Linked DNA regions of Homo sapiens: all the other regions are linked to region 3. The links are contacts of gene promoters, found by promoter capture Hi-C in human tissues and cell types (Jung and others, 2019). All regions are on one chromosome and are shown on one strand. Each heading gives the region's core, a stretch centred on a gene start or on the middle of the fragment in contact. The rest is flanking DNA. Distances are from core to core; before and after follow the strand shown.

Region 1 (3,494 bases), core at 620-3,119, 300 kb before region 3:
GGGAAGAAAACCGGAGAAGTTCACACCTAATCTCCTTGGCCATCTCTGCAAAGTAGCCAAGATTACCTCTGTGTTCCATGAGTTTCTGTTTGGAGATTTGCAAAAAAATACAGAAAGCAATTTGATAGGATATTGACTTGGGAGGGAAGAAAGAATTTTCAAGAGTCACTGACGTTCCAGCTGAGGTTGCACTAAAGAAGCTACTCATCTGAGTAGCTTCCATTAGCTTCCAGATCTTTCTTTAATTTCTCCCCCACAACCACAGTCTCAAAAGAACTGTGCTTAACATTAAGAGTTTGACCTCTTTGGACAATCTGGGAAATGTATTCAAGAACTATCGTGTTCTTTCTGTGGCCCATAAAAAGAAGCAAAGGAAAGAATGTAGAATGCCTTCCAGACAGGTTTCTGGAAATCAATGATTGGTCTGTTATTTAGGTATGTATGCAGTGATATTTGGAAAGAGAACTTAAATATCTCTAGCATACTAGGCTGATCAGTTTATTAGCATCCTGTGAAAACTACCAAAAAGATATCTGCAAGTAATTTACTGGGGCAGGATCAGAGATGAGCGGAACCAGTCTGTCTCCCTGTGACTGAGACCACCGCTAGTGATTCTCCAAGTACAGAGGGGCATACCATCCTCCTTCTCTTCTCTTCCCCCTCTTTTATTTTCTCTCATTCATCTGGATTGACCCCCAAAATATGAAGGAAAGGCAAAGGAGCAGCTCCCTGCCAAATTAAAAGAGGTTATAATGGGGACATGTCCATGGTGAAGAACTATGTGCATCCGAGAGGGTTATGAAGACCTGCAAACATACTCATGATTTTGTCCCCAGTCTTCATTGTGCAATATATTTTAGTTTGCCTTTTTTGTTCCTACACTGCACTGGACATTATCTTTTTTTTCAATAGCACTTCATTTCACAGAATAAATCCCTCCCCATATAAATGGTTTACAGCGCGCCTGCCTCAAGCAATTCTGTTATGTAAAAAAAAAACTTTGCAACCACATTTAAAATTAGACATTTATTCCTTCATTCCTAAATGTGAGTTGACTCCCTGGAAGTATGTTCTCATTTTTTGTGGTTTTATTCCCTGAACTACAGTGATGTGCCTGTGACACCCACGCTGCATATTTCCTCCTTAGGTTATGTATTAGTTGGTCAAAACACACTCTCCTAAGGCAATGCCGCCCTCAAGTGGTCTAGTCTGAGAATAGTCAACTATTTTCCTCTGAACGCAAACTGGGTTTCCGTCCAGACCTGTTTGGCTGAAGCATTAACTCCTGAATGGAAAAATAATAATAATTATGTGCAGTTCTGGGGCACAATAATTATGAGGTACATGAGGAAAAAGGAAGCCTTTATTTCCCAAGAAGGCCCCAAAAGACATAGGAGTAAAATGGACGACAGCAACAACCACAAGCTTGTTTTGTTAATTACCAAGTAACTGGCTACCTGCATGTGACCGGGAGGACTAGGGTGGGCTATGAGTTGAACTGGCCCCCTTATGCCTTTGGGGCCAATCCTCAGCTCCTCTAGGGCAACCCCCTAATCAGAACTTATGACATCATGTTCTATAATTAAGGGCATACATTGTATGGAGACAACGCATTCAGGGAAAACATTCAACTCTTCCATGTGGCCAAGACTCTCAGAAGAGAGGTCAGTAATTATGGTAATTACATTAATCACAAGGATTGTTGCACGGAGGAGGGTATTGACATTGACGTGGCTACCCTATGATGAAGCTCTGTGGGGGGTCTGCTCTAATTGGCCACCACCAAAAGTCTCTCATGCCTATGATTAACTTCTCTGGTTGTTTATGTGAGCAGGCTTAGGAATTCTGCTGGGTTGTTCTGTGCAGGGCTTATGAGACAGGTTGGTTGCAGGGCTGTTAGGCTGTTCAACTAGAGAGCCCATCCTGGAACAAATGGGTCAGATAAAAACACACGCTGTGCTGTCCTTCATGGTTTGTTGCATTGTTTGTGGTACTTTGGGTGATTTCAGTTAATCATGAATCTCCTTCAACAAAGATTTTTGCATGGAAAATGCTAGTTCTTCTAAACTGCTCTTGGGCACAGAGATAAACTGGACCAGCGCAATGAGCAGGAAAGAGTGCTTTATCTAGCAGTTATTTGGTGCTGTGGGAAAAGCCCAGAAAAAGGAAACTGTGCTTAGTAACTTGAGATTGAGAATCAGCTCTGCCACAAACTGGGTATGTGACTGTGAGCAAGTCGCTTAACCATTCCAGACTCAGTTTCCACATAGGCAAAGTGTTTCATGTAACTCAGATTAGGGGTTCATAGGCTTATGTGCAGATGGCATGCCACACATGCCACCACCAGGATGAGGCCTAAGAGGCAGCGTCCTCTTTCCCTCCCTTCTTTAACTAAACCAGGTTCACTTTTATCCATTTTATAAATTGGAATCTGAAAACCACTGGATTCTATATATGTGCTTCTTTTCCAGCTACTTTATGCTGTGATAGTTATAGATACTCTGAATGGTGATGCTGACACTTATTAATCAAGTTCTTTTTTTTTCAAATTGTAAGTGAAATCATATATGTCTCTGTTAATTTACAAGTCTAGTTTCTGATAAAATTAGTCCAGTCGGTGGAATGATGGCATGTGTGGGTGTGTGCTGGGGAAGGGGGGAAAAGAAAGAAGTAACAAGGCTCATGGTGACCCCACAGCTCCCAGGAGGATGCAGGCCAAGGAAGGATCTAGGTAGACCTTGCCAAGCAAACAGTAGACAGTTCTAGGAGTGTGGATAGACTCTACCAGAAAAGCCAGCTAGAAAAGGGATGGTTCTGGTCAAGGAATAGTCCGGAGAAGGTCTGAAGGCACATCAGCAGACTAACAAGGCTTTTCACTCTGTGCCTCTAGAAGACATATTGTAAGGTCTGAGTGGGCCCCCAAAAGAAAAATACATTAGAAAGAGTTGAAAATCAAGATTTCCAGAAAACAGATGAAAAGTTTTTACTACACTATACTATATATGGGTATATATGTCATTATTAATAGCAGCCATCATTAAACTAATATGATTTATTTTCATTCAGGAAGCTTTCCCTTTAAGTTAGCTTAAAAACCGCATATACTATGCAATGTATCCAACTTTATTCTTCAAACTCCAAAAGAGTTTTTTCCTCTACAGTGCTTAAAGATAACACAAGTGTGGATGAGTGATGGTTGAGATCCAGTCTCCTTTCTTGAGAATAACACGAGGCACAGACCAAGCAATAGACCAAGGTGCTCAGAATTATGAAATGTCCACTCTTTTTAGTTCAAGTATGCTGAGTGCGGAAGAAACTTCCTGACCTCCTAGTGTTTTTATGTCACCATCTGTAACCTATAATTACAGAGAGATTCTAACTTATTAAAGTAATTGCTCAGACTATAATTCCTGGTTATATGAATTTCTGAGGTACAATTTGTATGGCCTCCTGCAATAGATGCCTCTGTTGCTACCCTGTCATTGTGCTGAAAA
Region 2 (3,677 bases), core at 390-2,889, 340 kb after region 3:
TTTACCCCCCTACAAGCCACACATGCACATTTAGCCTCAGTACTTTTTATTAGGATCAGCAGAGGGGATACAAAGTGTAATGCTGGTTCTTCTAACAGGGTAAGGATAGGTTTCATTTATTCCTTAAACATTTACTGCATTCACACTAGGTGCAGCATTTATAAAGATGAATCAGAAATTCACCTTTGTCCTCTGGTTGAGGACAGCCATTTTCTGGGTGAGGTGTCAGAAGAATAATAAGCATTTTCATTACCTTCCCTGTGGTGCATGATCTGGGAGACAAGAAGATTATTGTTTGGTTTCAATTTCATCACTCACTGCTATGCAATAAAATGGTAATACCCATACCATTTGTTTATGTGTAGATGGTCTGGGGACACACAATTTGTGAAAGCTTCTGTTGAGGTTATATGCATGTATTGTTAGCCTACTATAGCTTAACCATGGACAGAGTCATCTTTTTTTGTTTGATATCATATAATGTTTTAAACTAAGGAATAATTTATAAGATTTATAAATTTCTAATCAGCACACTGTAAATGGGTAGAATTGCTAACTTAGGGGATGCACTCTCATTTTGAACTATACCAACTGATTTTTTTTCTCAGCATTTAAGTTGTTGTATACATGAATAATAAATGAACAATTAGTATGAATTATAGATGTGAACTAATGGAGGCAAATATAGCTCAGTTGGATCTTGGTTCAGGGGAATGCCTTGTATGTTAAAAATGATTTGATTCATTTTGACCTGGGATGACTTGAATAAAATATACTATTTAGCAAAGATATAGCAGGTTTAATTAACAGGTAAATATAATTATAGATGAAAATAGTATAACTTAGTACTGTAGAATATAGTGAAGAAAGAAAATAACATAAAAATTAACCTAGCATCCCCTACTGTACTTGAAAAATTCAACCAAGAGTCCCCCAATTCAGTTGTTTTCAGGTACTGTAATTTTTTAAATATATTTTATAATTGATAGAGAATGGTCATTTAGTATATTTTTATAGTGTTGCATTTGGTATAAGACATAGTATTATATTTAACTTAATGTCAAATATGTGTACTAAATTGTTCAACATGTAATGGTTTTTTTCTATTCTTTTGAATAGGTCATAAATTGAAATTTCTGTATCACTCACAGCTTTAAGTGTACTTTTTGTCAAGGATCTGAACACTAGCTGGATGTTGCCAGTATGCATTCTTTCTATTCCACTAGAACAATAGAAATGACTAAAACTAATTATTTTATGCATCTGTAAAGTTCAATAATAGACAAGAAAGGATTTGTGTGAAAACGTGAAGTTTTTTTTTACTCTTTTATCAAACTGTGATTTTTTAAAAAAAGATTTTAAAAATATTTATTACTAGTTTTATTCAGAAAACACTATTGGGGTGGGTCTTTGTTTTTACTGCATTTTCTTTCTCTTTAAATTAAGGAATGCTATTTTATAAGTACATTTTAATGAGGGGTTAACTAAATAGGCAGGCATGCATTTTTTCCCCCCACAGGGTCTTTCTTTGTTGCTCAGGCTGGAGTATAGTGGCACAGTCATAGCTCATCGTAACCTTGAATGCTTGGGCTCAAGCGATCATTTGCCTCAGCCTCCCAAGTAGCTGGGATTACAGGCCTGGGCCACCACGCCCAGCTAATTTTAAAATTTTTTGTAGAGGTGGGGTCTTGCTATGTTATCCAGGCTGAACAGGGATATCTTTTCATTTGCTTTATTTTGGAATAAGCTGGGTATATAGAATGAAGATAGTTGACTCATTTGGTTCCTTTTCTCCTATTTCTTTTAGGTTTCCTTCACATATGGAATATGGAAAGGAAGGTTGTTTTGCTTTTGTTTTTGTTTTTTGTTTTTTGAGACAGGGTCTTGCTCTGTCACCTAGACTGGAATGCAGTAGCACAATTATAGCTCACTGCAGTCTTGAACTCCTGGGTACAAGCAATCCTTCCGCCTTAGTAGCCTGAGTAGCTGGGACTACACACGTGGGCCACCAAGCCCGGCTAATTTTTAATTTTTTTTTTTTTGTAAAGACAGTGTCTCACTCTGTTGTCTAGGCCGATCTCTAACCCCAGGGCTCAAACAGTCCTCCTGCCTTGGCCTCCCAAAGTGCTGGGATTACAGGTGTGAGGCACTGTGCCTTGCCTTAGTCTTAAATCTTAAAGCTCAGAAACCAATGAGACTTGTGAAGGGAATTTTTATCCAGTCTGCTGTTCTCTAGTTTACCTGTATTGACTGAGACTGATAAGATGGTTAAAGAGAACTCTTCTTGAATGCCTGTCCCTCTATTTGGGGAATTCCTGTTTTCTAGCGAAGTTGTCCATCAAGCAAATTTCTGTTACATGAACCTTTTATGTTTTCTTTCCTTTATAAAACTGGAGGCCTATGTACTTAGAAGGAAAACAGTTGTAAACTATTTTACTGTAAATGTTTAACAGTTAAACATTTTTATCAAGGAATTAAGATAGTAGAATTCTGAACATTGTTGTACATTGGAACATTTTGCCTTTAAATAGTTATAACACCAGCAGACAGTTGACCTTTTTCTTTTTTGGTAGCCGTTCATTTCAGGAACTCTGGGGCCTCCACTGCATGACATGCCATCACGCATAGTGGTACAATTCCAGACTTTCTTCCTTTACTAGTTTGGTCTGCATGTTTATAATGCTTAATATAATTGACCTAAAACCTCTGCTTGAGACTTTAAATTATTATTCTTAACGCATTTTAAAGATAGAAATATGTAGAATAGAATATTTTCTGTGCACGTGGCACTTGAGAGACTTTAAGACAGTGCAACGCTGGATCACACACACTCCGGTGTGGTCCAGGGACACAAGCTCTGACTAGAGTATCGAAGAATGGTTGGTTGCTCTAGGAGAATGTGGGCGGAAGGTGAGGGATCAATTCTTGATAATAAAAAATTGGACAATTGAACAATATTTGCCAAACAAAGAATTTCGTCTACAATTTATGCAAATCACTTTATTGTTAGGTACAGCAATAGAAATTAGTTCACTTGGTTAGCTTTGGGCTTTGCGGATTTCTTTGAGCTAAGGTTATTTTCCTTTCTCCATTGTGTAATTGTGTACCTATACATTTGTGCAAATGTGTACACCCACACGTTCATAGTCCTCCTACAACTTTGTACAGCTGTGGGACAAATCAGCTTCTACTGGAGGATTTGCGTCAACTATAGGAGCACCAGAAAGCCACTTCTCTCCTGTTCCACGGTGTAAAGAAACTTCAGGCTACTTTATGCTTCTCTTCCTAGTTGGCTTATTTCCATACAAGATTTGGTGGATTAGTTGCAGTATTTTCAGTAGGATGGTGAACTCTAACATGGTATAATGCATAAAGTAATATCTGAAGTTTTGAAAGGTACTTATTGTATTTCAGGGTCTTTGCTTAAGTTTGGAGGTAGAAGGTCAGTAACCAGGGCAGGGAACTAGGAGATAGTTGATCATGGCTCTGTAACTGCTCAGTTGCTTTGGTCTGTAGCTTTTTCATCCATAAGTAGAAGGAAATAAGTTATAGTTTTGTTGTTGTTGTTGTGGTTAGCTTGCTTTTGAGATGGAGTTTTGCTCTTGTTGCCCAGGCTGGAATGCAGTGGTGAGATCTCGGCTCGCCGCAACCTCAGCCTCCCGGGTTCAAGTGATTCT
Region 3 (3,291 bases), core at 720-3,219:
AAAATCCAAAATCCAAAACGCTCCAAAATCTGGAACTTTTTGAGTACTGACATGACATTCAAAGGAAATGGTCACTGAAGCATTCCGATTTTGAGTTTTGGTATTTGGCATGCTCAACCAGTAAGTAATATGCAAATATTCCAAATCCTGAAAAAAATCTGAAATCCAAAACACTTCTGGCCCAAGCATTTCAGATAAGAGATATTCAACCTGCAATAGCAATAACTAAAAAAGGCAGATAAGACAGTGTTTGCACAGGGTTGTGGGTACCATGTTAAACATTTTGTAGGCATCAGCTTATATAACTTATTTATTCTATGCTCTAATAAAAATCGATCCAGTTTTACTCAAGCTAAGTCTTACTATTTATAGACACAAGGCTGAACTTTACTACCTTAAAATGGTAACATAAATTTTGTTTGGCAGTTTGGAAAATTTTGCAAAATACAAACAAATGTAAACAAATAATGGTTATAAGGCTGGCTAAGTAGAGTGCAACCAATTCATAAAAGACTTTAAAAGGTAGAGCCCCTGGCATCTGCTGAGTGTAAAACACTAAACAAATAATTGTCCTATGAATGTATATTGAGTCAAATAGAAGTTTGAATTCAATATTAAGGAGTAAAACGTCTTCTGTGGTAGCAACAAAGAGCTACTTAACATTTTTGAAGATAATACGATAAAAGAAGTTGGCGAAAAGAAGACTTAGAAAGGATACTTGATTTGCCCAAGATCGTAATGCCAGCGGGATAAGGAACAAAGGAACAAATCTGACTCCAAGTTTCCACGGTTTTAGCCATATTCCACAAATCTGTTCATCAGACCATAAAGAGGATAGGTTTCAGAAGTCCATTTACTAAAACCAAGTTTCATTACTGAAAAATAACTGCAAGATGACTAATTACACTCTATGAGCATTGCTCCTATCACTTTTACTGATCTGAATAGTAGAATGGAAAATACAGCCTCGATTTTAAGTAGAACTGTGCACAATCTGTATTTTCTGCATGTGCACTCTACTAATCAGCAAATGTTAACTTACTCATACACAAGAAAGAAGTGAAGGACAATGGTTTAGAAGACAAGCTTTGGGGAGACAAACCTAGGTTCTATTTCCCAGCAGAGAAGTGAGCGACCAGGAGTAAAATTCCTTAACGTATGGAGCCTTTTTCATTACTTGATAAGTGAAGGTAATAATACCTGTTTCAGGAGATTATTGTGACTAACACAGAGTAAGATTTCAAATATTAACTGTGGATGTGACAAGGATACTCTATATAAGATGCAGAATCTAAAATTTACACTCAGGCTACTTCCAGTGTTGTCTTCAGAAAGATGTCAAAGAAAATACTGTAAACGTATTTCATAATGAAACCACAATCTCAAGAATTTGGGGCTGACGACGAAGAAAAGAAAGAAATAGATGACCATTTAATAGTGAAGAGAAATGTAGGGGATAACATGACACTCATCCTGGCGTGAACATGCCAGACACTCGGTGGGAGTTCCACAAAGCTTAAAGGCTAATCCTGGCATTCGGTTTAGCACCACAAAGACCGCGGAAGGAACTGGAAAAACATTCGGGACACCGCGAAAATTGAGAACTACAAAGGCAGAACCAGGGATCAAGATCGCAGGACCAGAAAGGCCTTAACAGCGGCAGGTAGAGAAGGGACAGAAAAAGGCGGGGTGTGGAGGGAGGAGGCGGCCGCGCACTCGCATTCTCGATCCCTCCCACAGGGGACACCAGGGCCGCGGACCTGCTGCGCGAGGAGCTGTCGCCGTAACTTCTGCCGCTCCCGGATCTCCTGCAAGCGGCTATCCATGTTCCAACTCCGGCTTTTCACTATCCCGAGTACTTGTCAATCTCCAGTGAACTCTTATCCAACCTTTCTTCCGAGTCTGTGGAACAAAATTCACCGGGAGCTTACGAACAGAGTATCCTCATAGCTTTCCTCAGTAGAGACTTCCGGCGCGGCCGGAATTGGCTCGCTTGGCCCGGAAGTCCCGCCTCCTTCTGGACGCTTGCTATGTGACGCCACTTGGAAGGGACCCAGTAAGGGATCTGTTGCGCCACAGGGGTCTCCAGGGCCCTCGCAGGTTGGGGTGGTCTGAGCTAGTCTGAAGGAGGACAGTCAGCTGACTTCTCCTTTATCTCTCTTTCCCAGGATAGCAGGTTCCCTTGGTGTATTACAGTTTCTGAAGTGTTGATTCCCTTTTCAATTGATTCCACAGATGACAGTCCTGACGTTTAAAAAATTGCCAGATAACCTTTAATTTTTTTTTTTTTAACAGAACACAAACTTAAGCCAGATTGCCTAGGATTGAACCTTGGCCTCTCACTTCCTAGACGAGTGGCCTTGGCTAGTTAACCACCTTCGTGAGCCTCAGTTTTGTCATCTGTAAAATGGGAGTCATAAGTGTCTACCTCACAGAGCTGTGATTGAAAGGATAAATAGCACCTTGCACATAGCGGTGTAGAAGTGCTTGTTATTGTTAATATTTTATTTACCTTCACGCAGGTAACAGCCACAACATCTGCCCACTCTTCCCCACACCTTACTGTCCCTTGAAATGTTTCCCATTTTACTATAGTATGCATTTTTTGGCTTCTTCCCTTTAGGGAAATGAGTATGTGATAGTAAAGCGTGTCTTGGTTTATGTCCTAGGAGTCAGAAGCTAAGAGACTCCTTTTTGTGCTTGTACATTTGTCTTAACTGAAAATAACCCAAGGATAAGGAAACAAATAGCTTCCTGAAATTACTCGGATTGCGGGGGTGAGGGGTGAGGGCTGGGGGGTGGTGATTCTGTCTTCATAGGATGGCAGCAAAGGCCAAAGTCTTATTTGAGTTATTACCATTATTATTCACCACACTTGCCATCTTATTTCAAGCCTACAGTGGCGGAAGTGGAGTAAGACATCATGTTGCCTCAAGTTTAATTGGAAATCGCGGTAAGTACTTAACAAAATTAGTAATAAGTCTGTTCTTTCAGAGTAGATTTAATTTTCAGAAATAATATTAAGTCATCCAGATCAAAACCAGTTGAGTCAGGCTGGGCCAAAAGTGGGCAAGACTAGATTCTACTTAGTCATGCCCACTTTTATAGAAATAATTATAATGTATTTCCGAAGAACTAGGTCTGAAAGACAATTTTGAACAAGTAGTCCTAAACAATTCCTTGAGTAATGTCAGCACTACTTGGATACTGTAAAATATTTATGTCCATATGAGTTAAAGTGTATTTCTTTAAAAATCAGTTGTATTATCTGGCAATCATTTAAGTTGAATA
Region 4 (3,260 bases), core at 141-2,640, 360 kb before region 3:
CCAAGAAAAGTGAAGAGGAATAAAAAGTATTTCTTTTGCCTTTTTAATCATGGATTAGAATTTCTGAAAAGCAGAGGTCCTAGAAGGGATACACAAATAGAAGAAACCACAGATATTCTCCATTTTTCCATTTGCTCAAGTTGAAATTTTGGGAATCAGTGTTGACTGCTCTCCATCTCACACTCCACACCTGATCTGTCAGCACTGACTTCAAAATACATCCACTATCTGACCAAGTCTTCTCAACCTCCACTGGTAGCATCCTGGACTAAGCTATCACAAATTCTCACCTGGATTATTGCTACTGTCTCCTAATTGATTTCCCTAGTTTCATTCTTGCTTCCTTTAGTTTATTCTTAATATGCTAGCCAAAACTACCCAGTTAAAACTCAAGTCAGATTATGTTATTCAGTCTACTGTTTAAAAACTTCCCATGGCTTTTCATTTCAAAAAAGGAAAAACCAAAGTCCTTTCATTGACCTACAAGACCCCACAAAATCTGCCAACTAGCTCCTTGCATTATCTGACTTCATCTTCTTCATGTTCTCTTCCTCTCCCTTTCCTCCAGCCACACTGGCCTTGAACCTTGAACACACCAGGTACACTCATGCCTCAGGATTTTTGTACTTTCCAATCCTCTGGATTTTTGTACTTGCTCACCCCAGGTACCAGCATGACTCCTACCTTGTTTTCTTCAGGACTTACTCAAATATTACATGATCACTCAGCTTGGCAATTCCCTCCCTCTCTCAAAATTCCTTACCTTTCTCCCCTGCTTTAATCCTTCCCTTAGACTTACACTCATCTAACATAATAAATATTCTACTTAATCATTTGTTTATTTTTCTCTCTCCACTAGAAATTAAGGTCCATCTAAGGGTAAAGGTTTTTGTTTCCTTAAGGCTTCCCTAGAACAGTACTTGGCACCAGAATAGTAGGTGCTTAGTAAATATTTGTTGAATGAATGATAATTTCTACATCAGGCTGTCATAAACTGAAAATGTGGTTATCTTCACCAGAATTTTACGTCAGTTCACAAGATGTAGCCCCTCTCACACATCAGTTACATGTGACAAGGGACACAAACAGAACTATCCCCACCACCTTCAATATATGCAAACCAATATGCACCCCAAGTCATGTTCAACAAGACAGACAGGACTAGTCAATATTTATGAACAAACCAATTTTTCTAAACAGGTGGAAGATTTTTAAGGTTCAAATAAATGATTTGCATTCAGGTCAGTGGAAGTTTAAGAGTTTCAAACGGCTTTGATTTCACAATTGAGAAAAGTCTTAGAAAATTATGCATAAACCCTAAAGAGAACCTGAAATACATTTGCAAGATTAAATAAATCAGACCTAAGAAGAAAACGATAAAAGAGATTGGAATTAGTTAGGGTTGAAGAAGAGCAAGCTGAAAGTTGATTTACCGTTTATCATGAGACTGCAAGTACGTGTTAGGAAATGGCAGCCTCTACTAACTAATCTCCTAGAGTCCCTCCCAGCTCTAATGAGCCCTCAGTGAAAATTTTCTTGACAGTAGAAACAGTTCAACACTGGAAAAAATTTCTGCATAGAGATATAGAATCCCTTTACCTAAAGGTCTTTAAATATAAAACAAACGCTCCCTTGAGGTGGTTTAGATACAATCAAGCTTGAAGTTAGAGGATAAAAACACTTTGAAGGTCATTTTGTTCTAGTCTCAATAAAATAGTCTTTTCCTCATTCCCTAACACTTGCCTTCTTAAAGAGGATTTTAAGTTTACCTCCACTAACTGGAGTTTTTGGAAATTCTGTTTTAGGACTCTCTTATCTAGAAAATGGAAGAGAGTTTCTATTTCTTTCAGCAGAAGTACACAGTATCATTCTGTCTGCCAAGAAGGGCACATAATCAGGACTAATAAACCATATTTTTGAATAGAAAAGTGGCCAAGTAATCACATGTTGTTTAAATAGTTTCATGGGCTGGGCACAGTGGCTTACGCCTGTAATCCCAGCACTTTGGGAAGTCGAGTGGGTGGATCATCTGAGGTAAGGAGTTCATGATCAGCCTGGCCAACATGGTGAAACCCTGTCTCTGCTAAAAATACAAAATTAGTCGGGCATGGTGGCTCATGCCTGTAATCTCAGCTGCTTGGGAAGCTAAAGCAAGAGAATCGCTGGAACCCGGGAGGCAGAGGTTGCAGTGAGCTGAGATTGTGCCATTGCACTCTAGCCTGGGCAACAAGAGTGAAACTTCATCTAAAAAAAAAATAAATAAACAAAATAAATAGTTTCATGAATGCAATGGACATACTCTGACATCAAAATAAGAGATAGGGTCTTGTATGTAGCATATCATCTTGGTTCTGTTACTCACCAGTCATCTTAGATTAACTTTTAGATTAAATTTTCTCTTCCAAAACAACAGACTTTTAAACAAAAAGTTTTACTTTCTGCTTCTAGGAAATCTGTTTGTGAGAAAGCGTAAGGCTTGTAAATGACAATGGAGGCCAGCATCTTATATTGGAAGGAATGGAAACTTGGATGTCACATTGACCTGAAAGTTCTGCCTTTGTCTTTTGTTATCCACGCAATTCAACTTCTCCCAGTCTTATTTTCCTTAATTGTAAGATGGGAGTATTGCTGGCTACAGTTTCAAGATTATGGGCAGAGTAAAGATTGTGTTTATAAATGGAATGCCATGTAGCTCAACAAATGGTGATTATTTTTGTTATTGTGGGAAGAGACTGTGTGGCCCTAAAGGTGTCAGAGACCTGGCAGGACCTTTTGTTCAAGAGGCAACTGCATAGGCAGGCTGCTGACCCAGGACAAAAATAGGAGGGAGACTTGCCTTTGAAGTGGCATTAGCAGTGCACGCCTCCGAGGCTGCTGTGCCAACCCCGGCTGCCCTCCTGTCATCAGAATGCAGGCAGCTGGGTTGGCCAGAAACATTGCCACTGACCTCATCTTCCTGCTAGGTCTAAGTGGGCCAAAATATACACTTCTTGATTTTTTTTAAACCTTCTGTTATAAAAGAATAAAAGTAATGATACACAGTTTAAGGTCGAGAAGACCAACATGAAGGAGGAATGTGTGCATATACTTTTGTTGTCTCTTTCATCTTTGAAGCAATGATAATAATAACTAAAATGTACAAAACTTTTACTATGTACTAGCTACAGTTCTAAACACTGTATTTGTTACCTCAATTAATCCTCTCAACAACCTTATGGCCTCCATTTTGCAAATAAGGAAAGTGAGGCATGTAAATTAGG
Region 5 (3,706 bases), core at 797-3,296, 280 kb after region 3:
CTTTAGGGACAAGAAAGAGTCTTGCATGGCTTCCATTGAATATGGTGAGGGGTTCTCAGTCAACACAGTATTTTTTCCTTCCGAAAAAATGGGAAATATAAGGATTGGATAGAATGGACGACCCAACCCTTTCACAGTTTGCAGATTATTAGATCTTATACTAGAGGACCCAATTGAATCGATAGACAAACTATTAGAACTAATATGAGAGCTCAGAAGGGCTGTGGAGATGCAAGATTTATGATAGACAACAAAACAATAGTGAACACATATAGTATTTACTTAATTCATATATAAGACATTTTATAAATATTTTATGTATATTAATTCATTTAAATTCCATATAAAAATCAGTAACATTCTTCCGTATCAGCAGTGACCAACTGGAAATTAGTATAAAATGCAATTTCATTCACAACAGCAATAAAAACTACAAAGTATATAGGATATAAACTAATGAATGAACCCATCCTTTAAAACAGAGTTTTTCAAGCTCTATTAAAGGACATAAAACAAGATCTAGGTAAAAAGGAAAAAGTACCACATTCATGAGTGGGACAAATGAATACTGTAAAAATATCATTCTCCCTAAATCTATAAATTCAATGCAATTTTAATGAAAATTTCATGAGGATTTTGTGAAGAACTAGGCAATTAATTAGCTTATAAAATGTGCATAGAATAATAATAGACCACAAATAAATAAGATGAATTTTTTAAAAAGAAGAGCAAAGAGAGGGAACTTGTCTAGTTGAATATATTAAGACATATAAAACCATAGCAATAAAAATAGTATGATACCAGTATAGGAATGGACAAAAAAAATGATATAACAGAATAGGAAACCAGTAAACAAGCCTATGTTATATATGAGAATGAGGAATATAGTAGAAATTAGCATCATAACTCATAGAGGAAAGACACATTATTTAGTATGTGGCTCAACACATAGGAAAAAAATAAACCTAACTATGAAAGGCAACACTATGAAGTGAGTGAAATACATGAAGCTTTCTTTGTGAACTTGGGATGGGAAAGGATTTTTAAACAAGACCCAAAAAGTACAAACCTTAAGGGTGTGTGGTGGAAATTGATGGATGTGATCATGTTAAAACTGAATATTTCTATACAAAGAAGATATGATAGACAAACTTAACAGGCTGGTTGCAGACACATTAGCAGGAGATATTTTTAAAGTGTAACACTAAAAAGTGATTAACATTTAGACCATATAAGGAACTACTAAAATCTACAAGGAAACTCAAAAATTGAACAAGGACTAAAATAGACAATTCATGGGAAGGGAATTCTAAATAGCCAAAATGTATATGAAGAGATGTTCAACTTCACTTGTAATCAGAGAAATTCAAATTAAGTCAACAAAGAATCGCTAAAAATTACAAAGTCAGCTAATACTAAGTGCTGGCTAGGATGTCAAGAAATCAGAAAACTCATGCACTATTGATGGGAGTGTAACTCACAATACCTAGTGAAATTAATTATTCATATAATTTGTATACTTATCATTCCCTCACCTGGGTTTATATTGTGTACAAATCCTTAAGGGGATATTTTGGAGTGTGGTATCCTATCATTATTAGTGTTAGCAAGAAGTTAGAGGCAGCTTCATGTCCATCCCTAGGGAAATGGCTACTCAGAATACATAGCATGTACACACAATGGGATAAAATACAGGAAGAAGTAGTTAACCATTTTTATATGTAGGAATGTAGATGGATCTTGGAAATATGGAATTAATTCTATAGAACAAAACAATTTTTATATATTCAAAATACACATATACACAGAAAACAACCATATGTTGTATCTCAGGGCTGTATTTTCAGATGCCTAAGGAAACATATTGGATATATTAATGTGTATATCTCTGATGGGAAAGATGATGTATATGAGAATGAATAGGACAAAGGGGAAAGAATAATGAAATAAAACAGGGGCATTGTATGGACTCATAATGACGATGGAATCTGAAATCTGTGTATTTGAGAGCGGTATGACTCACAGATAATGCATGTGTGTCCTAATTTGGGGAGGAATATTTAAGTAATGTTCTCAACAAAAGGAAGCACTGGTTTTAAAACAGATTCTGGGAGGATTTGAATGGCCTTATGTAGAAGACAGATGGATACGTGATTAATACAAATTCTTGCTTTAGGTATTTTCCTCCCTCAGAAGTGTTGGAAATTAATCTGAAATTAATTTGCCTCCAGCAATCAGTCTAGGAGAGGAGTAGAAATTTAAAACCATGGTTATTTAATATTCAAAGAGAATGGCTCTGTAAATCTGGAAAACACAAATAACCTGACAAAAGCTTGTTTTTTATTTAGTTTCATGTAATCTGTCAGGCAGTAGTTTAAAAAGTATCAGGTTTTTTTCTTCTGGTATTATTTCATTGCATGTACTCACTGACAAAACCTTTTATTTATCAGTAAAATGTTCCCTATTATTCATTGTTATGCAAGCAATATACCACAAATCACTGCATAGCTATTTTTAAAATTTTATTATTATTATACTTTAAGTTTTAGGGTACATGCGCACAACGTGCAGGTTTATTACATATGTATACATGTGCCATGTTGGCGTGCTGCACCCATTAACTCGTCATTTAGCATTAGGTATATCTCCTAATGCTATCCCTCCCCCCTCCCCCCACCCCACGACAGTCCCCAGTGTGTGATGTTCCCCTTCCTGTGTCCATGTGTTCTCATTGTTCAATTCCCACCCATGAGTGAGAACATGTGGTGTTTGGTTTTTTCTCCTTGCCATAGTGTGCTGAGAATGATAGTTTCCAGCTTCATCCATGTCCCGACAAAGGACATGAACTCATCATTTTTTATGGCTGCATAGTATTCCATGGTGTATATGTGCAACATTTTCTTAATCCAGTCTATCATTGTTGGACACTTGGGTTGGTTCCAAGACTTTGCTATTGTGAATAGTGCCGCGATAAACTCATGTGTGCATGTGTCTTTATAGCAGCATGATTTGTAATCCTTTGGGTATATACCCAGTAATGGGATAGCTGGGTCAAATGGTATTTCTAGTTCTAGATCCCTGAGAAATCGCCACACCGACTTCCACAATGGTTGAACTAGTTTACAGTCCTACCAACAGTGTAAAAGTGTTCCTATTTCTCCACATCCTCTCCAGCACCTGTTGTTTCCTGACTTTTTAATGATTGCCATTCTAACTGGTGTGAGATGGTATCTCACTGTGGTTTTGATTTGCATTTCTCTGATGGCCAGTGATGATGAGCATTCTTTCATGTCTTTTTTGGCTGCATAAATGTCTTCTTTTGAGAAGTGTCTGTTCATGTCCTTTGCCCACTTTTTGATGGGGTTGTTTGTTTTTTTCTTGTAAATTGGTTTGAGTTCATTGTAGATTCTGGATATTAGCCCTTTGTCAGATGAGTAGGTTGCAAAAATTTTCTCCCATTCTATAGGTTGCCTGTTCATTCTGATGGTGGTTTCTTTTGCTGTGCAGAAACTCTTGAGTTTAATTAGATCCCATTTGTCAATTTTGGCTTTTGTTGCCATTGCTTTTGGTGTTTTAGACATGAAGTGCTTGCCCATGCCTGTGTCCTGAATGGTATTGCCTAGGTTTTCTTCTAGGGTTTTTATGGTTTTAGGTCTAACATGTAAGTCTTTAATCCATCTTGAATTAATTTTTGTATAAGGTGTAA
Region 6 (3,496 bases), core at 634-3,133, 470 kb before region 3:
GAAATTTTATTGCTCTGTTGGTAAGGGGATTGGTTACCTGGAGCAATGTTGTCTGGATTTGGAGGGCTTCGTGGATCTGGGGTGTTGGGAGGAGTCAAGGGGGCTTGCTGCGAACCACCTTCCAAGTTACTTCCATCCACTTTCCCATTCTGCATAGCAATACTGTGCTGTATTTAATCAAAAGTAAACTCTGCTGAAAACTCAAAAATGTAAGCACAATAATAGGAGCTATATATGCAAAACTTCAATTGTATATTTATAATTTAAATGCAATGTCGCTTCATTACTTCCTGGGACCTCAATAATTTTTTTCATAGTAAGATGGTTGCGCACTTGAATGAGAAGATTTACTGATATCAGTCTAAGATCTATTTTATGATGACAGTCCACTTAATAATGATTAGAGCTGAAATTGAGACTTACTGTGTGCCAGGCACTGTGTGTAGTGGTTCATACCAATCATTTCATTTTCTGTTCAGACCATCCCTATGAGATAAATGTATTTAATTTTTGAATCCTTACTAATCTAATAATGTAGAGCATACTGGCTAAGCATTTGGCCTAGTAAATCTTATCTTCCATTGTATTTATATTTGGGCTTTAATTAGATTTTTTAACGTCTAGAAAGTTTAAAAATCTAACCTGAAATTTCAACGGCAATCATATGTACTCCAAAAAAACACAAAAATCATTTATATTTTAAGTTGCATAGACTTGCAAAAGGAAAAATTTTTGATTTTTAGAAAATAAAATGCTGAAAAAATACATTTGTCTTTTAAATTTTGATAAATTTGTTTTCCTATTACAGGATTTATTCTATGGCAATAATATAGCACCTTAAAAATGTTCAGTTTGCATTTTAAGAAAAAAATAGACATCGTAGTAGGTTATGTCCTCAAAAGTATAGCCAAGTTTTATTCTCATAATAAATCATTGTTTTAATTGCATATAGGAAATATGTGTATTTTAAAAAGAAGCGATTAGGTCAAATCATCTTTTAACTTCAAAAATAAAAATTTAGTAAAAAGCATAGCAATTAGACACTGATTTTGACTCTTTTGTGTGTGACATACAGAAAATCTTTCATTTTTTAATTTCTATATTTGTTTGTAAGATTCTGTGATGAAATATACCTTTACATTTTAACACTTATTTAACTTTATAGCAATTTCAGGATAGAATACAATTTTGTTTTAAAATTTAAATACTTACCATAACTAAAGGCCATAAATTAAGATCCTCACTTAATAAAATTATGAAGGAAATAAAGTTTATCTCCATTTTTATGCTTCACCCACACAGCCCCTCCCCAAGGGCTTTTGCATTCATGTTAATCTCTGCAGCATTCCAAAAAAGCCTACTTTCAAAGCAGTAGTCCAAATTTGAGCCTTTGTTCTTTCGTCTGCTTCATCAAAGCCCACATTTGGACAGGGCAGAAAATGACAATGATAAAATAAAATCTTCATGAATAAATTATACTTATAAAATATTGATAGTCTGATGATATACTAACTTCCCAGGAACATATATATATTTTCAACGAATAGCTTTTTAAACAAAAATACTTAATCTCTATTAGAATTTTAAAAGATCTATTTTGGGAAGGAATTCTCTTAGAGCTGTCTCTGCCTGAGGTTAAAACTTATAGCAAAAATATTATGACTTTAAACATTTTTACAACTTTAAACATCGCATGCCTAATTGCAAACTCATCATCATGTTCACACTTTATTGCATACTGAATAAGCCTAAATGTTTTAGCCTTGCACTGAGACCTGCCTACCTAGTCTCATCAGTTTTTAAAGATGTACCCTAAGCTTAAAACCAAACCACTTATAATTCCCCGATTATCTTGTATGCTTTTCTACCTTTGATCATAGATCAAGATTCCCCCATTATCTTGTATGTTTCTCCACCTTTCTACCTTTGATCTTTGATCATAGGAGTTCCCCTAGCAAGAGGACCCCTCTCCGTCATTACCATGGTCGGCTCTGTCGTGATTTAAAAAACACCCCTTCCCTTATTCTTCCTCCCCTTCCAATAAAAAGTTTTTTGTCTTTCTTCTCGCCGCTCCCGTATCATTTACTATAATTCGCCTTTAAAATAATATTTTGTGTCCTGTTTCATTTACTAGCTTGTTAGCTACTTGAGAACAGGGAATTTCATTTTGCCCATATGTCTTTTACAAAGCCTAAGATGGTGTCTTATATAGCACAAGCAGTCAGCGAATATTAGCTGAATTTTTAGTGAATAAATAGCCAAACCCAGCTGATTCTTTTTCACTATGACATTTTTTAAAATGCCATCTTCCTTTTTCACTTTAGTCTTCATGCTCCTGTTATCCTCATTGCTCATACTTTATCATGTCATCATCTATCTTCTGTTCATTTTCCACCAAGCATTTTCCTTCCAGTCAGACCGAATACAAATGCTGGTATGGCATTACTCCAATCTTTAGAAATTGTTCCTAATTGCCTAGTGAATAAAATGCAAACTCTTTTGCTTGGTAATGTAGATGTCATACTCACCTCATAAACATTACCTCTCATTCCTTGCAAACTTCCACAAGCCAGTTCCCCACTACTACCCTCTGCCCTCCTCAGCCCCACAAGCTGTTTCACCTGCTTTGAATGCCCTCTTTTCTGTTCTTTACTAAACCAAATCCTAGGTTTCCTCTAAGACCCATCTTAGAATTTCCGTCTTCTTTCTAACTAACTTAATCTACCGGAAATGTCTCCATATTCTGTATTATCCCAATACTTCAATAAAACCTATGCCACCTTCTCGTGCTCTTTCTTTATTTGTTCCTGTTACCTGGGTTTTGGTATTGCATTTATGTCATTTGGAGTCCCCATCCTATTTATAATCTGGCTGAAGTCTAGTTGGCCACTGATGTGATTTGGATATTTGTCCCCTCTAAATCTCATGCTGAAATTTCATTTCCAGTGTTGGAGTTGGGGCCTAATGGGAGGCGTTTGGTCATGGAGGTGGATTCCTCATGAATGACTTGGTGCCATCCTCGCAGTAATTAGTTCCTATGAGAATTGATTGTTAAAAGGAACTTGGCACCTCCTCCCTCCTCTCTCTTCCTTCCTTCCTCTCTCACCATGTGATGCCAACTCCCCTTTCCCTTCTGCCATGAGTGGAAGTTTCCAGGGGCCCTTACCAGAAGCAGGTGCTGATGCCATGCTTCTTGTACAGCTCACAGAACCATGAGTCAAATAAACCTCTTTTCTTTATAAAGTACCTGGTCTCAGCTATTACTTTATAACAACATGGATGGACTAAGAAAGGCATTGTGTGTGTGTGTGTGTGTGCGTGTGTGTGTGTGTAATATAACATTTTTGCATTTTGAACTCAGCTCCTATCTTGAGTGTTGGACTTAATAATTGACTAGGTTAGTATCTTTATGTTTTTACTTCTAAACCTATACTAATTCTTTAAAAAGTATAAAGTTCCTGATAACTTTAATTATAAATAAAAAGGCATTTGAGAT
Region 7 (3,387 bases), core at 574-3,073, 320 kb after region 3:
TAGTAGAGACAGGATTTCACTATGTTGGTCAGGCTGGTCTCGAACTCCAGACATCAGGTGATCCACCCGCCTCAGCCTCCCAAAGTGCCGGGATTACAGGCGTGAGCCACCGCTCCTGGCCACTTTAAAAATATCTGTTTTACATAGGGCTTACTTTGGTTTGTTGTCTGTTGACAGCCAGGACTGGAATGGGCCTGGATGGGGTTCCTCAGTGTCTTGAGCAGACTGGCATGAAAAGTCAGGGATTACACTGTTCTTCCTCCTAAAATTGGCTGTCTGGAATAGCATGGTGGCACCCTTAAGAGTCCCAAGTTCAATTTTGGGACTAATGCTTTGAGATTACATACTCATTGAATAGTCTCTGATAATTGATTATGAGAACGTAATTGATTGGGTCTAACCTAAACTCAGAGGTGATCATTTGGGTCAGAGTTGACTAGCAATTGAAACTTAGGGCAGAGAGGTAGTGAATTCTAAAAGGTAGTCTAGTACTTTTGAAAATGAGGGCACTTGTTTTAATCTACATTTTGGGCTGGAATCCTCTGGAAGGACATTTATAGGGGAAAAAATGGACCTTGGTTAATAAGATTTAGATAGGTGGAGAACAGAGTAAAGACAATCATTGATTCATTTACTTATTCCTTCAAGAAATATTTATGAAACTGCATCACAGGTAAAGTTCAATGGCCTAAATGCTTTATATTTTTTCTTTTCTTTTTTTTTTTTGGAGACAGTGTTGCGCTCTGTCACCCAGGCTGGAGTGCAGTGGCGTGATCTCAGCTCACTGCAACCTCCGTCTCTTGGATTCAAGCAATTCTTCTGCCTCAGCCTCCTGAGTAGCTGGGACTACAGGCGCACGCCACCACACCCAGCTAAGTTTTTGTATTTTAGTAGAGACGGGATTTCACCATGTTGCCCAGGCTGGTCTCGAACTCTTGAGCTCAAGCAATCCGCGTGCCTTGGCTTCCCAAAGTGCTGAGATTACAGGCGTGAGCCACTGCGCCTGGCCACTTTATATTTTTAATACAGTAAAAGAGTTAAAATGTCAGTGTGGGAAGACAAAAAAATCAGCATATAATTTAGTCCTTAGAAATATTATTTCGTTTGTTTTGTATTTTGAAGGCTCAACAACACTTTAATTTGGTCTAAATTCCTTTGCCTACCAATTTGAACGACAAAGAAAGTTCACTTCCTTCCCAAAGAAGCTGAGATTTTAATTAAATACACATTATTTACTGGACTTCAGGGTCCCAAATAAACACTGGGTGAGTTTTTTTCTAAAGGTTAGCGTGTTCTCAAGGGTTTATAACAAGTTTTCCTGACTAGTTCCATTTCAGTCTGGATTGCAAAACTGCTTCTTGACACATGCTTTGGAAAGGAACAAACATTTAATCCTCTAATAATATTGAATGAACATTGATCTTTTTTTCCTTTTTTCTTTTTTTTTTTGAGACGAAATCTCGCTCCGTTGCCCAGGCTGGAGTGCAGTGACACAAACTCGGCTTACTGCAGCCTCTGCCTCTCTGGTTCAAGCTATTCTCCTGCCTCTTATACAAAAAAAAAAAAAAAGGGGAACAAAAAACATACCGTCTGTTGAGTGCATATGAAGTAACAAACAGCATTTCTTTTTACAGCATCTCTGCAAAACATTACTATGAGGTGACATTGTCATCTACAGATGCAACTCAATCAAAAACAGCAAGTCTGAGGTATAAAATAGCCAAGTAGAATTTGACATAATGTGCATTGATTGCCAATCTATGTGCTATCCACTAGGCAACATAGTATCTCCTTATTTAAATATAACAATAAATATAAAGAAGAATTTAATGTTAAGAAAAAATAAGTAAATCCATCTTTTGAATGATCACCTTTATTGTAATATTCCCTTCTTCTGACAGAAAGTTAATGGTTAGAAACCTGCTAAAGATCAAGGTTATATTTCAAAGAGAGCTTGTGTTGTTGGAGGCCTGGGGAAAGAAGGAAGAATAAAATCATTTGCAGCTAACTATAGCCTGCATGGAAGCCCTAGAAGCATTATCTATCTGTGATTAAGGAAGAGGAATTTTCTTGAATTCTTTTTTTTTATTTTAATTTTATTTTTTTAGGAGACAGGGTTTCATTCTGTTGTCCAGGCTGGAGTACAGTGGCGTGATGATAGCTCACTGCAGCCTTGGCTTCCTGGACTCAAGTAATCCTCCTACCTCAGCCTCCCAACTAGCTAGGACTGCAGAGGTGCACCACCACACCTGGCTAATTTTTAAAAATTTTTTGTAGATGAGAGGTCTCACTATGTTGCCCAGGATGGTCTCCAACAGCTGGCCTCGAGCCATCCTCCCACCCTGTCTTCCCAAGGTGTTGGGATTACAGGTATGAGCCATCGCACCCAGCCTTGAATTCTTTTGGCCTGTTATTATTCAGGAATTCATACAGAAGCCTAGGCTGGGCACCTTAAAAATTTCTGAAACAAACAATCTTTGTTTTTTCTTTCTTAACAGAATAATCACTGAAATGTTAAGAACTCTTTCAGGTAACGTTTATGTTTATTGATCAATATTTTCCCTTGGCAGAAGATTGTTATGCCTGCTCTTAAGCACCAACTACTTGAGGCCAGAGAGCCTAATGTTTACCCAGCTCCTGGGCAGGCTGAGTCTCAATTGTCATTGAACATGTGACTTCATTAAACCACGTCTAACATTTCCCTCTCCTACCTCTTTTCTCAGAAGACAGTCTAGTGGCCCAGTATGTGGCCAAATTGAATTGCAAGCAATAGGGAGAAAAAGCCAAAGTTCTTTTCACTTCCCTTTACTTGAGCTTTAGAGTTCTTATTTTGTACTTATACTTGAACAATAATAATTTTATTAACATTATTAACAGACATTTATCTAAAGTGTATTATATGCCAGGTACCATGCTGTTATTTCATTATTTATTCATCAAATAATGATTACCAGCTGGGTACAGTTGCTCACACCTGTAATCCCAGTGCGTCGAGAGGCCAAGGTGGGAGGATCATTTGAGACCAGGAGTTTGAGACCAGTCTGGGCTACACAGGGAGATGTTGTCTGTACAAAAAAATTAAAATTAAAAAAAGTTACTGCTGAAATATTAGAGTTATCCTTATTTTATAGACAAGTAAACTGAGCTAAAGGAAGTTAAGCAACTTGCCTGATGTCATCCGAGTTAAGTAAGAAGCAGAGTTAAATTTTGAACACAGACTTTTTCTGACTCCTCTTGAAGGCCAGTCCTTAATTGCTACGTTACATAATATAACATAATACATACAAAATTTCTTTGAAATTGTGTGTTAGTGGTCAGTAGTTTTCAAATAGCTATTTTTGTTATTTTCTTTCTTTCTTTCAAGAGATATGGTCTCATTCTGTCACC

Evidence for each region. The method cuts DNA at HindIII sites, captures the fragments that hold promoters and counts their contacts. A contact is called where the count stands out against the background at its distance.
Region 1: a fragment that was not itself captured here is called in contact with the fragment with the promoter of METTL14 in region 3 in 3 of the 25 tissues and cell types used here (lymphoblastoid cells, mesenchymal stem cells and thymus).
Region 2: a fragment that was not itself captured here is called in contact with the fragment with the promoter of METTL14 in region 3 in 1 of the 25 tissues and cell types used here (hippocampus).
Region 4: a contact is called between a fragment that was not itself captured here and the fragment with the promoter of METTL14 in region 3, in 1 of the 25 tissues and cell types used here (mesenchymal stem cells).
Region 5: a fragment that was not itself captured here is called in contact with the fragment with the promoter of METTL14 in region 3 in 2 of the 25 tissues and cell types used here (H1 embryonic stem cells and thymus).
Region 6: a fragment that was not itself captured here is called in contact with the fragment with the promoter of METTL14 in region 3 in 2 of the 25 tissues and cell types used here (IMR-90 fibroblasts and thymus).
Region 7: a fragment that was not itself captured here is called in contact with the fragment with the promoter of METTL14 in region 3 in 1 of the 25 tissues and cell types used here (thymus).

The regions. Positions count from the first base shown.
Region 1 is chr4:118,979,670-118,983,163 of GRCh38, reverse strand. The region is part of intron 1 of SYNPO2 (synaptopodin 2); the gene reads right to left. The region is part of intron 1 of SYNPO2-AS1 (SYNPO2 antisense RNA 1); the gene reads left to right. Among named protein-coding and RNA genes, the nearest start is that of SYNPO2-AS1, 3.3 kb to the left of the region's middle. The HindIII fragment of the contact is 4,306 bases long and covers 1-3,494 here.
Region 2 is chr4:118,341,591-118,345,267 of GRCh38, reverse strand. The region is part of intron 1 of PRSS12 (serine protease 12); the gene reads left to right. Among named protein-coding and RNA genes, the nearest start is that of PRSS12, 9.6 kb to the left of the region's middle. The HindIII fragment of the contact is 4,288 bases long and covers 1-3,677 here.
Region 3 is chr4:118,684,070-118,687,360 of GRCh38, reverse strand. It overlaps METTL14 (methyltransferase 14, N6-adenosine-methyltransferase non-catalytic subunit), which reads right to left and starts at 1,969. Exons shown (of 11, transcript NM_020961.4): 1 at 1,761-1,969. The coding sequence starts at 1,826. It overlaps METTL14-DT (METTL14 divergent transcript), which reads left to right and starts at 2,020. Exons shown (of 7, transcript NR_125930.1): 1 at 2,020-2,056; 2 at 2,894-2,953. RefSeq lists enhancers at 1,431-1,570, 1,751-2,010. The HindIII fragment of the contact is 10,452 bases long and covers 1,302-3,291 here.
Region 4 is chr4:119,046,065-119,049,324 of GRCh38, reverse strand. The region is part of intron 4 of SYNPO2 (synaptopodin 2); the gene reads right to left. Among named protein-coding and RNA genes, the nearest start is that of SYNPO2-AS1, 63 kb to the right of the region's middle. The HindIII fragment of the contact is 3,412 bases long and covers 1-3,096 here.
Region 5 is chr4:118,408,652-118,412,357 of GRCh38, reverse strand. No RefSeq gene overlaps it. Among named protein-coding and RNA genes, the nearest start is that of PRSS12, 58 kb to the right of the region's middle. The HindIII fragment of the contact is 3,133 bases long and covers 480-3,612 here.
Region 6 is chr4:119,154,693-119,158,188 of GRCh38, reverse strand. It overlaps MYOZ2 (myozenin 2), which reads right to left. Exons shown (of 6, transcript NM_016599.5): 4 at 38-167. Among named protein-coding and RNA genes, the nearest start is that of MYOZ2, 21 kb to the right of the region's middle. The HindIII fragment of the contact is 7,792 bases long and covers 1-3,496 here.
Region 7 is chr4:118,367,364-118,370,750 of GRCh38, reverse strand. No RefSeq gene overlaps it. Among named protein-coding and RNA genes, the nearest start is that of PRSS12, 16 kb to the right of the region's middle. The HindIII fragment of the contact is 8,108 bases long and covers 1-3,387 here.